Regions from separate parts of the Homo sapiens genome. Here all the other regions are linked to region 4. The links are contacts of gene promoters, found by promoter capture Hi-C in blood cells and fetal thymus (Javierre and others, 2016). All regions are on one chromosome and are shown on one strand. Each heading gives the region's core, a stretch centred on a gene start or on the middle of the fragment in contact. The rest is flanking DNA. Distances are from core to core; before and after follow the strand shown. Region 1 has its middle 230 kb from the start of LINC02820. Region 2 has its middle 210 kb from the start of LINC02820. Region 3 has its middle 250 kb from the start of RASSF9. Region 4 holds the start of NTS (neurotensin).

What was found. Contacts are between HindIII fragments. The CHiCAGO score rates a contact against its expected background, and 5 or more counts as called.
Region 1: a fragment that was not itself captured here is called in contact with the fragment with the promoter of NTS in region 4 in 6 of 17 cell types (erythroblasts, M0 macrophages, megakaryocytes and 3 more); the score reaches 8.5 in erythroblasts.
Region 2: a contact is called between a fragment that was not itself captured here and the fragment with the promoter of NTS in region 4, in 2 of 17 cell types (erythroblasts and megakaryocytes). The highest score is 6.5, in erythroblasts.
Region 3: a contact is called between a fragment that was not itself captured here and the fragment with the promoter of NTS in region 4, in 2 of 17 cell types (erythroblasts and megakaryocytes). The highest score is 6.6, in erythroblasts.

Annotation. Positions count from the first base shown.
Region 1 is chr12:85,548,503-85,551,202 of GRCh38, reverse strand. No RefSeq gene overlaps it. Among named protein-coding and RNA genes, the nearest start is that of LINC02820, 230 kb to the right of the region's middle. The HindIII fragment of the contact is 1,768 bases long and covers 526-2,293 here.
Region 2 is chr12:85,530,566-85,533,311 of GRCh38, reverse strand. No RefSeq gene overlaps it. Among named protein-coding and RNA genes, the nearest start is that of LINC02820, 210 kb to the right of the region's middle. RefSeq lists an enhancer at 1,638-1,697. The HindIII fragment of the contact is 3,569 bases long and covers 1-2,746 here.
Region 3 is chr12:85,589,436-85,592,193 of GRCh38, reverse strand. No RefSeq gene overlaps it. Among named protein-coding and RNA genes, the nearest start is that of RASSF9, 250 kb to the left of the region's middle. The HindIII fragment of the contact is 382 bases long and covers 1,253-1,634 here.
Region 4 is chr12:85,872,848-85,875,547 of GRCh38, reverse strand. It overlaps NTS (neurotensin), which reads right to left and starts at 1,253. Exons shown (of 4, transcript NM_006183.5): 1 at 1,072-1,253. The coding sequence starts at 1,144. The HindIII fragment of the contact is 11,906 bases long and covers 1-2,700 here.

The DNA of each region.
Region 1 (2,700 bases), core at 160-2,659, 320 kb after region 4:
TGCCAGTTTGGGATTGCAAATTTGAATTTTCTCCATTAAAGGAGTGAATCCCTGCTGCTGTGCAAACTTTAAAAGCTTCACTTTTACTTTACAACAGCATGCTTGCAAGCTTGGAAAACATTCAAAGAGCTGCTGCAAGTCAGGAAGTGAACTTTAAAAGTCTTGATCTGCAGTGGCAAAGGTCTGTTTGAAACAGTGAGAGAGAGTAGGTGATTTCATAGCATGTCTTGTTGAAGAGCTTGCAGAGTGAGTGCAATATGGCGTAAGTGAAGTCAGCATGGTACATATCTTTCAGACAGTATAATGTTCTTCCAAGGTGATCAAATAATCACTGGATGAATGTATTCAAAAGGAAAGAAAACAATGAAAGATCTAATTTAAGGTAAAAGCAGTGGGAAAACAAAGCTTGGGGTTTAAGCACTTCTTTAATAGGGCTGCTGTGAAAAGTTTCTATAGTGTGTGAAACGTGAGGCCAAGATAGTGCAGAACCAGACCCTTGTGTTAAAATACAAGAAAAAGAAAGCTTTATTAGGGAAGTCTAGTGCACTTACTCTTACACGTGCCTGGAACTCCTCAAACCTAGTAATTTAGCTTGTAAAATCATCACCATCATTCCACAATACCTCATAGAAAGACATTCTAATCAGTATAATAAGGTTTTCACTACCAGGTCTGTTTCTCCTTTTGTGATATCTAGCTTAAATTATGATTAAATGATAAACATAATAGTCACAATGCAATGTACACCCTAGTTAATTGTGAGATTATTTATTTTATTTCTATAACTATTGTTCAGATTCATCTGTTGCTGCAGGGAATTGAGAACTTAAGAAGAATATGAACAATTTATTTGACACCATGCTTTGTTCTTTGTATTGTCTTGAATTTAGTTCTCTGTCATAGGCTTGGAAGCGACCTCTAGACATTAGATCATCAGTTCTGCTTCAGGCAGGACAGATTTTAGCTATGCCAGATGGTAAGGCGTCGATCAAAAGGTTCCAGGAAAGGAGATCTACAAGTTTCCCTTGGAAACCTGTTTCAGTGCCAGTGCTCCTAATCCCACATTAGTATGTTCTCAAACATCTCCTGTCTGCTGATCCATACTCCAGGAATGTTCTGTCAATAACAGCAATGATCGTGAGCATCCTAAATCCCAGCAGCTAAAATTTAAGCTCATATACAGATGGCTGACTGCTTAACAGCATCCTTTGTACAATAACCCTTTATATGTTTAAGACTTTCAATTGTCCTTGGCAAAGGATATCATATAATGTAATGCACAACTCTGGGCGCAAACATGATACAGATTGCCTAAGAGCAATATAGACTGTATTGGAGTTGATTTTCCTTTAATGATCATGAATGGCTCACGTCCATTCATGATTTCTCACTCAACCTATGTTGTAACTAATGATGTAATGTTTAAAGATAGCTAGTTGGGGTTAAAGTACAAAGCTACCTTAGTTAAATAGACATATAGCTTTAGGGGCAAAGGATGTCAACATTTTATTTTTCACAAATATTGTTAACAATTGGAACAGGCACTTAGGCAGCAATGGTGGAAGAAAGAGAACTAAACTAATGGTTCCAAGCTCTATAGCTTCTCCTCCTGACTATGTAACAATGTTTTTTGTAAGCATATGGGAGAGAATTAAGTGGCAGAGACATGGTACTGTCTAAGAAAGGGATGCTTGCCTAACTACACCCACTCCAAGTAATGGAACTTCAAATCTTAGAATTTGGCTGTGGTCATTCAATCCATCCACGCGCCTGTATGTTTTTGACATCTAGAGCCTTTTTTTTAAATTTTTTTTTAAACGTGGGGGTTTATGAAGGTGACTAAAGTGTTTCTTGAAAGTGAATAAAATTGACTTTGAAATTAAAGCATATATATATGACAGACTATAAAGTACAATAATATATGGAGGGATTATAATGCCAACCTCATTTCTATCAGAGGAAAAACTGTTGTAATTCTTTTTGTACACTTTGCATTTTTCTTATTAAATGGATTGTCTTTAGAAAGTACCACATTACCTTGCTCTAAACTACCTGGTTGGGATGCTATTTGTTATTTCAGAACTCTTTTTGCTAAACATGGGAAGTTTTAATGCTCACCTCATGCAGTCTTTGTTTTTGAATTTTTATTAGTTGATTTCTGTGGGAGTTGTTGACTTCCTCCAGCAGGCTCTGCAAAATATCAGGCCTCAGTTTTGCTGATTTGCTGATTTGCTGATTAACAAAAATGGCTAAATTTGCTGATGGCTTACTGTCTCTCTTTTTAAACTAAGCTTGGGCTTCCTTGTAAAGGGTCTATATTTTCCTTTCCATTGTATTTGTAGGCAGTTTCGCAACGACTAGGGATATTTTCAAGCTGTTTTTGTGGAAAAAAACTACTTTTCCTTCTTGGAGTACAAGCTGAAAACAGCTTCCTCAATTGTTTAAATATTAACATGTATTCTGTATCCATAAAGAGTTTTTCATCATTTATCTATAGCAAGAGTAACTTTAACATCCTGTACACTTAGTGTTAAATAAATGCTATTTTATCTTATTTGGTAAATGTTGCTAATCTCTCAAGGGCTAGATTTTTTACCTGCTGTGGATAGAAAGTGCCATAATGTATAATGTATTACATCTATTATATTTATAGACTTACTATAATCTGAGAGAGTATGGTACTCAAAATACATGTCATAT
Region 2 (2,746 bases), core at 71-2,570, 340 kb after region 4:
TGAATAGATGCTGGCATGTGTCTGCTTTGACCAATAGAGTGTGAAGAAAATGATGCACTATTTCTTCCAAAGCTAAGTCATAAAAGAAATGCAGCTTGTCCCTGGATTTTTTGGTATGCTCACTTCCAGATGATTCCTTTAGATACACTTCCTCTTACAAACTCGTTACCATGTTTCCAGGGAGCACAAGCTACATGGTCAGGCCATATGTAGGGGCTCTGGTCAACAATGCAAGCTGAGCCCAACCTAACCCAGATACTAGAAATGTGGATTAAAATCTTTCTAAATAATTTCATACATCCATGATGACAACAACTATATAAGTATTCCCAGCTAAGGCTCCAAACATTGAGAAACAGAAATAAATTATCCCTACTGTGCCCTGATTGGATTTCTATATCAAAGAATATGAAGTTGTTTTGTTTTAGACCACTAAACTTTGGGATTATTTGTTAAACAGCAACATTGGGCAGTGGGCATAGTGGGCATACCAGCTTTAGCTTTAACTATGACCGAGAAGATAAAGCATTGAAACATTTTAAACAAAGATACAAGATCTGGCTTAATATATTTTGAGACACAATTTATCTATGAAAAAATGTATCTATTTAAAAAATTCAATAATTTATTGAAAAAATGGGTATTATCAGTGTTGCTTTATATATGTATTTTGTAATATATATTTTATAAGCAAGCCTTGAGTCAAAATATAAAGCCAAAATACTGAACACAGTTGTTGTTAGAGAACAGTAAGAACTGGATTTTGAACATTAAAAAGATTAAGTTATTCCATTAAATACCCTTAATCCACTAACCCAGATCCCATTGCTATCTGCAGAAATAGTCAATTTTTATTGACTATTTGTTCACCAAATCCTCTTATTTCCTTCTAATAAGTGGTAGCTGGGCTGGCAAGCTAGGAAGGAGAAGGGCTAGAAGAGTTGAGTGAATGTCCGGAGGCAACAGCACCAGACCATTCTCCAGCAGGCTATGAGATGGGTGGACAGGCCTAGGAAGTTGCTACTCTGGTCTCTTACCAAATGCAGTTGTGTTTTTGGAGGCTCCTGAGTTTTTCACTACCAGTGTTACTGCAGGTAACTTTGGTAGAGTTAGGCATAAAGAGGAGTATAGATCCCCATACGCATTGGAATAAGCCTTGAATAACAACCACATTGGTTACTATAAATAAAGTGTGTATGGGGCACTCGGAATGGGTAGAGGGTATTTGTTGTTTCACAGAGAACAGCAAACTCTTCCCATCTTCTTTATGGACAATTAAATAAAGGGATCAACTTTTTTAACAACTGAACAAAATATTAGACATGGGTGTTAAGCATTAGACTCAATATGCCTATGACATAATTTTAAAGCAATATATTGTCAATTGATCTTTCTTCAAAGGTAATGACGTGAGAAAGAAGAATAAGATAATATGAGGGTAATACTAGGTGTAATGAAATATCAAACACTGATATACTAGAGAGTGAGTGATTTCATACTACTTACACCACTTTTAATGGAGACTTAGAAGTAATTCAACAAAGTGTTTCAATTAAAGGAAATGTCAAACTTAAGCAATCAATTTCCCATATGAAATGTGAAAGAAAATACAATTTCTTTTTCTTATTCCCAGGAAGTAAAATATGCTCCTGTTTAATCTCAGCCTTCAGAGTTTAACAGTATTACATTGCTTTCCCTTCTCTATTGTGTGCAACCCAGGATAGAATATTACCTCTGTGTGTCTAAGCATGAATAGAAAGTGAAAACAGCCAGGCAGTCAAAGACAGTTCAGAGCTTATTGCATATTAGATAATCATTCATCAGTTTTCAGTTTCAGCTGTTTGCCTCTTCAGAAACTTTTCTTAAACAAGACCTCTCATCCTGTAGCCTTCATTACACATAATATTTTTTATGTTTGTAATACTACTAACAAGCGTTTATAGAACCCTTACTCTGTTCCAGTGAAGTGCTGAGTTACATGTGATATTTCATTTGTACCTGCCTATTAATTCTCTTAAGTATGTACTGTTGTCTCTATTTTGTAGATGAGGAAAGTAAGCACAGAGAGGTGAAAAACTTTTCTCCAACATTTCAACACAGAAAATCTATCTACAGTATTTAAGAAAGAATGCTTTCTTAAATACTTATTGCCCTATAGAGCTCACAGTTAACTGTGCTTATACATATATGTTTCTACATTATATGATCATATGCACATGAAGTATGACATCTTACATGCCACTAAGAATTTTTATTCACTCAAAACATATAGCAAGAATAAAGAACTAAGTCCAGTGTTACATATCTAATCAAAATTAATAGAAACCATGAATTAATCATACCAATCATGATAAAGAAACATTAAGGGAAATATCATCTAATATTTCCATTAAATGTCTTTAATATTAGAATTTATTATTTTTTATGTAGAGGCCAACTTTGCCTTTTGAAAGGACATTCCCTGAAGAAGGAGACTGACTTTCATGGATGGGTCTGAAATAAATTTCAAAAAGGATACAATAAAATAAATAGAAAAAGGCCGAAGAACATGCTTAGTGACTTCCACACTATGCCACTCGGAGCCCCTGGGGCCCCAGACGGCAACAAGCGAGTTAGCAGGCACTGTGAGTAGGCTGAGAAGGACTCTGAACTTGCCCCTACCTTTATTTAAGGGGAGGTGGCCCTGTGGCCAGGGAAGAAAGAGCTATGAGTTTGAAGGTACAATTCTACTAGTTACTCTGAAAGT
Region 3 (2,758 bases), core at 194-2,693, 280 kb after region 4:
TTGTTGGAAGCTAAGCACATTTGTAGTCCCATAAAAATTCTTGAGCTTTGTTGTGGTATAAAGTCGAATTAGTTGGAAAGAGGTTATTTTTTCTTTTGCTTTTCAGATAAGATGAGACAGGATGAGAGTTTTGAACTAAATAGTCACATTATTCAGGAGAGAGATTTCTAAGTACTCTTTATAGTGCTCCATGATTTACGAGGTTTCGCAGTCTGGCTGATGAGAAAAGATGCGAATCATTCCCCAGCTTCTGCTAATTTTCTCACTGGCAAATGCTGATGAATATTTTGCTCCCTATTCAAGGGAGGCCTCTGCAGATCTTTAGGCTTTTCTCTGTGTGCAGCTCTCTTTTCCTTGCTACTCTGTTCTGTGATTCTAGCCACCTTGATCTTCTCAGACTCTTGCCCTGTCTCCTCATCCCAGGGAATCTGTAGGTATCTATTTGACTTCCCTATCCTTTCACTGGTCTGGAATCTTTTTGAAAACAGTAGGCGGGGACCATGGTAGGGCTTATTATATTTGTTTTTCATCTTTACAGGGATCACTATCCTTTCTCGTTTCATCTCCAGTATCTTGAAAACTGGCATTTTTTTGTTTTTGTATAGTTTGTCTGGATTTAGTTGTTCGAGGTTGGAGGGTAAATCTTGGAAAGACATCAAAGAGCTAAGAGACATACCCTCTAGATTCACTCTCCTTATTTGTCTTCCTTAGCATCATTTATTCAAGTTTTACCTCTTACCTCTCACTGTATAAGAGGTAAAAACTTCTCCACTTTTCTCTGTCTTTCAGTTTTGGAGTCCTTAAGGAATTAGTGCTAGTTTTTTGTTTTTTCTTACAGTCTAATAAGAGTCAATATATGTAGAATGCTTACTCTTAGTTATTACATTTAATCCTTGCAAGTATTCTGTGATCAATGTACAATCATTTGCCCCAAATTAACCCCAACTTCACTAGTTTTATATAACTAGTTGGTGGTAGAGTCAGGATTTGAGTCTAGATATTCTGATTGCAGTGGCCTTGTTTTTAACAACTATGCTCTGTTGCTTTGTTTTACGTTGTTCTTTCTTCCTAGGTGGTCTCATATACATGCATTATTTGAATTACCATTTATATATATGCTGATGACTCTTAGGATCTAGTCTTTCAATGCTATCTGTTTTAGAGCCTTTCAAGTTCTGGTTCTGACCAGTTCTGATACTAGTGGTTTACATTATTGAAGGATGTTTTTGGCTAGATGCAAATATTCAAAGCTTTCCACTTTGTCAAAGTCCTTGGATAACAGTTAGAAGTAAATTACGTGTGTATATACACATAGAGAGCTATAGATATAGATGAAGGTAGATCTATAAGATTTAGATATATTGATATATATGTATATCAATATATACATACATTGTATATATACATGTATATATGTATAACAATATATACAATATATATACATATATATGTATATATATACACACTGAACAGACATGGTGCCAGCTCTCATGTATTTCACAATTGAGATTATAAGTAAACAAATAATTAAAACAATAAATTAAGCATCAGCACACAGAGTATTGTAAAGAAATGACATTGTATTGGGCTATGAAAGAGGAAAATATATGTAGTGTGATAAATTAGGAAAAGCTTCCCTAAGGAAATAACAGTTGAGATAAGACATGTAAACACATGAACAGACATCAACTTTCAAAGAGCTACTTTTTGAATGATTGAAAAAAAAAGAATATTAACAGATATAGCAATATTTGTTTCAATCTGTAAAGCCATCTTCCTGGTAACTAAAAATCCTATTTTGGAGAGAGGATCATTATTACCATTACCCAAAGAGTCTCTTCTTATCAATTCTGATAAATAATGCAAAGTTGAAATTACTCCTGATTAGTATTTATCTTAATTAGGATTTTAAATTCAGTTTGAAAATCATGTGTTGTATATTCAATGTACTCAGACGCCCATTGTAAACACTACAGGGAATAGGTAGAATCAGGGCCCACTTACTATGGGTAATTGTATTATATATCATCCACAGACATATACTGAGTCAGTTTTAGATTGATTGGTAGATGAGAAAGATACGTAAATTTTTTTGCTAATGAGTAAAAGGTAATAATTTCCCTAGTATGTAATAAATTGTTGTATTTCTAAAGCAAAATATTTATCAGTTATAGCAGATACTTAATAAACCTTAATTATCTTGCTCCTGGATGCTCTGCCTTAATAATTTTGCAAAGATATTGGCAAAAGGAGGGAAAATATTTGTATGCTATATATATATATATATAAAACTTTAAAATAATATAATAGAAAATATGTCCATAGCAGCAAGAACCAGAGATTCATCAAAGAAACTAATCATTTAACTTAAAAATATGTTAAAAATTTGCAAATAATGAACTTATTTTATGTACTTATTTGTTTTAGTTAAGTATATATATCTATGCTAAATTTTGTAAATTTAAAATAAGGGCTGTACTTCCAGTGTGTTTGTGAAATAAAATGTAATGGTATGTGTGTATTAGTCTGCTAGGGCTGCAATAACAAAATGCTCTAGACTAGGTGGCTTAAACAAACATTTATTTTCTCACAGTTCTAAAGGCTAAAAGTCCAAGATCAAGGTGCCAACAAATTTGGTTTCTGGGAAGACCCCCTCTTCCTGGCCTTTATGTGGCAGCTTTCTTGCTGTGCCTTCACATTACCTTTCCTCTTTGTGTGTGCCGAAGAGAGAGATCTCTGGTGTTCCTTCTGCTTCTCC
Region 4 (2,700 bases), core at 4-2,503:
GAAGCTGAAAGTTATGTTCTGATGATTAAAATAAATTTAAAATTTTGTATAAATCACATTTATATCTTCTTAGATTTTAATTTCATAATTTAAATCAAATGATAGCATGAGTTTGAGTTAAACATTTCCATGTCATATTTATGATACATAAAAGCACAGAACAGGTTAAATTATTTTTGCTGCATTTGCTTCCTAATGTGTTCTTTTCCCTTTGAAGTGTTCATTGTAATATTTCTTAAATATTAAGTAGAGCCTTTTGCAATGGTTGTAATATTTCATGTTATACCTTTCAATTTAAGTCTTATTTTCAAAGTGAGTTATTCGTAGATACTTAGGACTATATAACTTCTTTCAAACCACATGCAAAACACTCTAAAGTCAAATAATTTCCATCAATATAAGAATACCAATTTTCCAATTGTATTTTGTATTAACTTAAATGGCATGGAAAAAATGCCAAACAGTTATATTAATAGCACACTTATTAGACTATGCAAATTCTGTTCTCAAAAAGGATCTGGAATATTTTTGTATTTTTCTAGAAATAATTTTCTACAAATAATGCTTCATTTTTCACTAAGTATCAATTTTCACTTTATTTGTTATCTTAACACAAACAAGAAAATAATACGGGGACTATTACAAGGGCGTGAGGGCCACCGCTTCCTAAGAGAATGAATGAGGATGAGAGTAAAACATTTTGAATGGAATGGGATTTAATGATGGGTTTGCAGGTTGACAGCCACTGCCTCTGTATTTCTCATTAGATAATGATCAGCCTAATTGAAAGTTTTGTAGGGTTTTTTTCCCTCTAGTTGTTGAATTCCAAAGGAGGTCGTGCAGTGTTTCATTGAAATCCCTTTTATTGCTTTGCAGATTTTAAAAGAGAAAATACATCTCTCAGTAATCATAAAGGCAGAGAAAGAGATACTCAGTTTCTGTCACTAAAAGGTAAATCCTGAATAAAAGGGAGCAACTCTTCTCCCCAGATACATTAACATAAGTAGCAACACACTGCAAAAGAGAAAAAAGAAATCACTTCAGGGAGTTGTGAAATTCTGTTTTGCTTACCTGAGCACAGACTCCAGGAGCTGAAAGCCAGGAGTAGCATGCATACAAGCTGGATTTTCATTCCTGCCATCATCTTTCAGCCTTCTAACAAGCCAAGTCCGTAAAAGTCAGAAGCACACTGAAGGGGGCTCTCTCTAGCACTTCCTCTTTCCTTCAGCTGGCTTTGAAAGTGAGTGAACTATGAGAGGTGCTCTGGCCATTCCCCTATATATATAAGCAGGAGGATGATGTCATTGATTGTACAGACATTATCTTTGCAGGATGTGCCCTATCTTCACCTCCATCCCTCCCCTCTTTGCCCTGCTTTCTCCTCCCCTTTTCCTTTGTCCCCCCTGCTCTCCTCCCCCATTTCTGAACCTTGAGTGAAAGTGACGATCTTCCCTAATTGCTGCTGCTGCTGCTTTGGATTTCTGACGCACAGAAGGAGTCATTCAACTGCACTGACATACAGCATACATACAGCATACTGACAAAGAACCCCCAGTATCATCCTTTTCCCACTTCTCATTCCCCCACTCCAAAAGTTGTCATTTTGATTTTGTGAAACATGAGATCTGTTATTTCTAATTTTTAAGGAAAATCTCCAGGATGAATGCATGAAATCAGTGATTCCTTAGGCTTGGAAGTTCTTGAAGAGTTAGGGTGCTTCTCTGGTAATTCAAACTTCTGAGCAAATGTTTAGTGGTTCCAAAACTAATACAGGTTTTAAATAATCCATGCTGGAATAAGATGGAATAGAGACAGAGAATCAGTTATAAAAATTAAGCAATTAAGTTTAGAGAATAGAAAGAAAATCAATAAAAAGAAATAATAGATCCAGGGAATAAGATATTATTTCCTAACAAATAGAAAATATTTTATTGTAAGTAATGAGAGATGACTGAACTATGTGTGCTGACTTTTGGTTGAATGTATTAGAAAAACAATTTCATGTTTATAAAATCCAGCTCTAAATTACTTACATTCTAGCAGGTAAAAATTTGTGTTGTTGTATCACTGACTTTTTTTCTGTACATTATCTCTTTTTATGCCTATATTTTTCTGCTCTTTTTGAATTCATTCTTGATGCCATGTCTCACTCTTTGTATAATTCCCTTCTCAACAGTTTTTACTATTGCATCGGCTTTCTTTCCCTGTTATAATACTCTTTTCACCATAAAAAAAGAGATTGTACTTTTGGAAAGGAGACAATCCTAAATAACCACCATTCACCAAAGTCACTTTTCTATGATAGTCTTCATGTATTTCATGAGTTACACTGATACCCATTCTTTGTCTGAGTTCTCAAAAGAAAATTGTTCAAAATGCCTTTTAGAGTAAAACTTTCTTCTTGTAGTAAGCATTTCAAGATACATGGGGTAATTTGACAAGTCAGTGCTGTTAGAGATGTGAATATTTGAATGTAAAGTTGTCTGAGTCTTGTTTAATTTTTAAATAAATCAATCATGTAGTAACAGTTGAGAAAAAATAGGATTGGTTCCTATAGATAATTGATTTATATTATACAATCTATGAGTTTAACTTTTTCACCTTTACCCAAAACTTAAGCAAAGCGATTAAATCCAAACATTTAATAATTACTTAGAATAGCAAGGAGTCTTTCATATAATACCAGAAATTTAATAATAA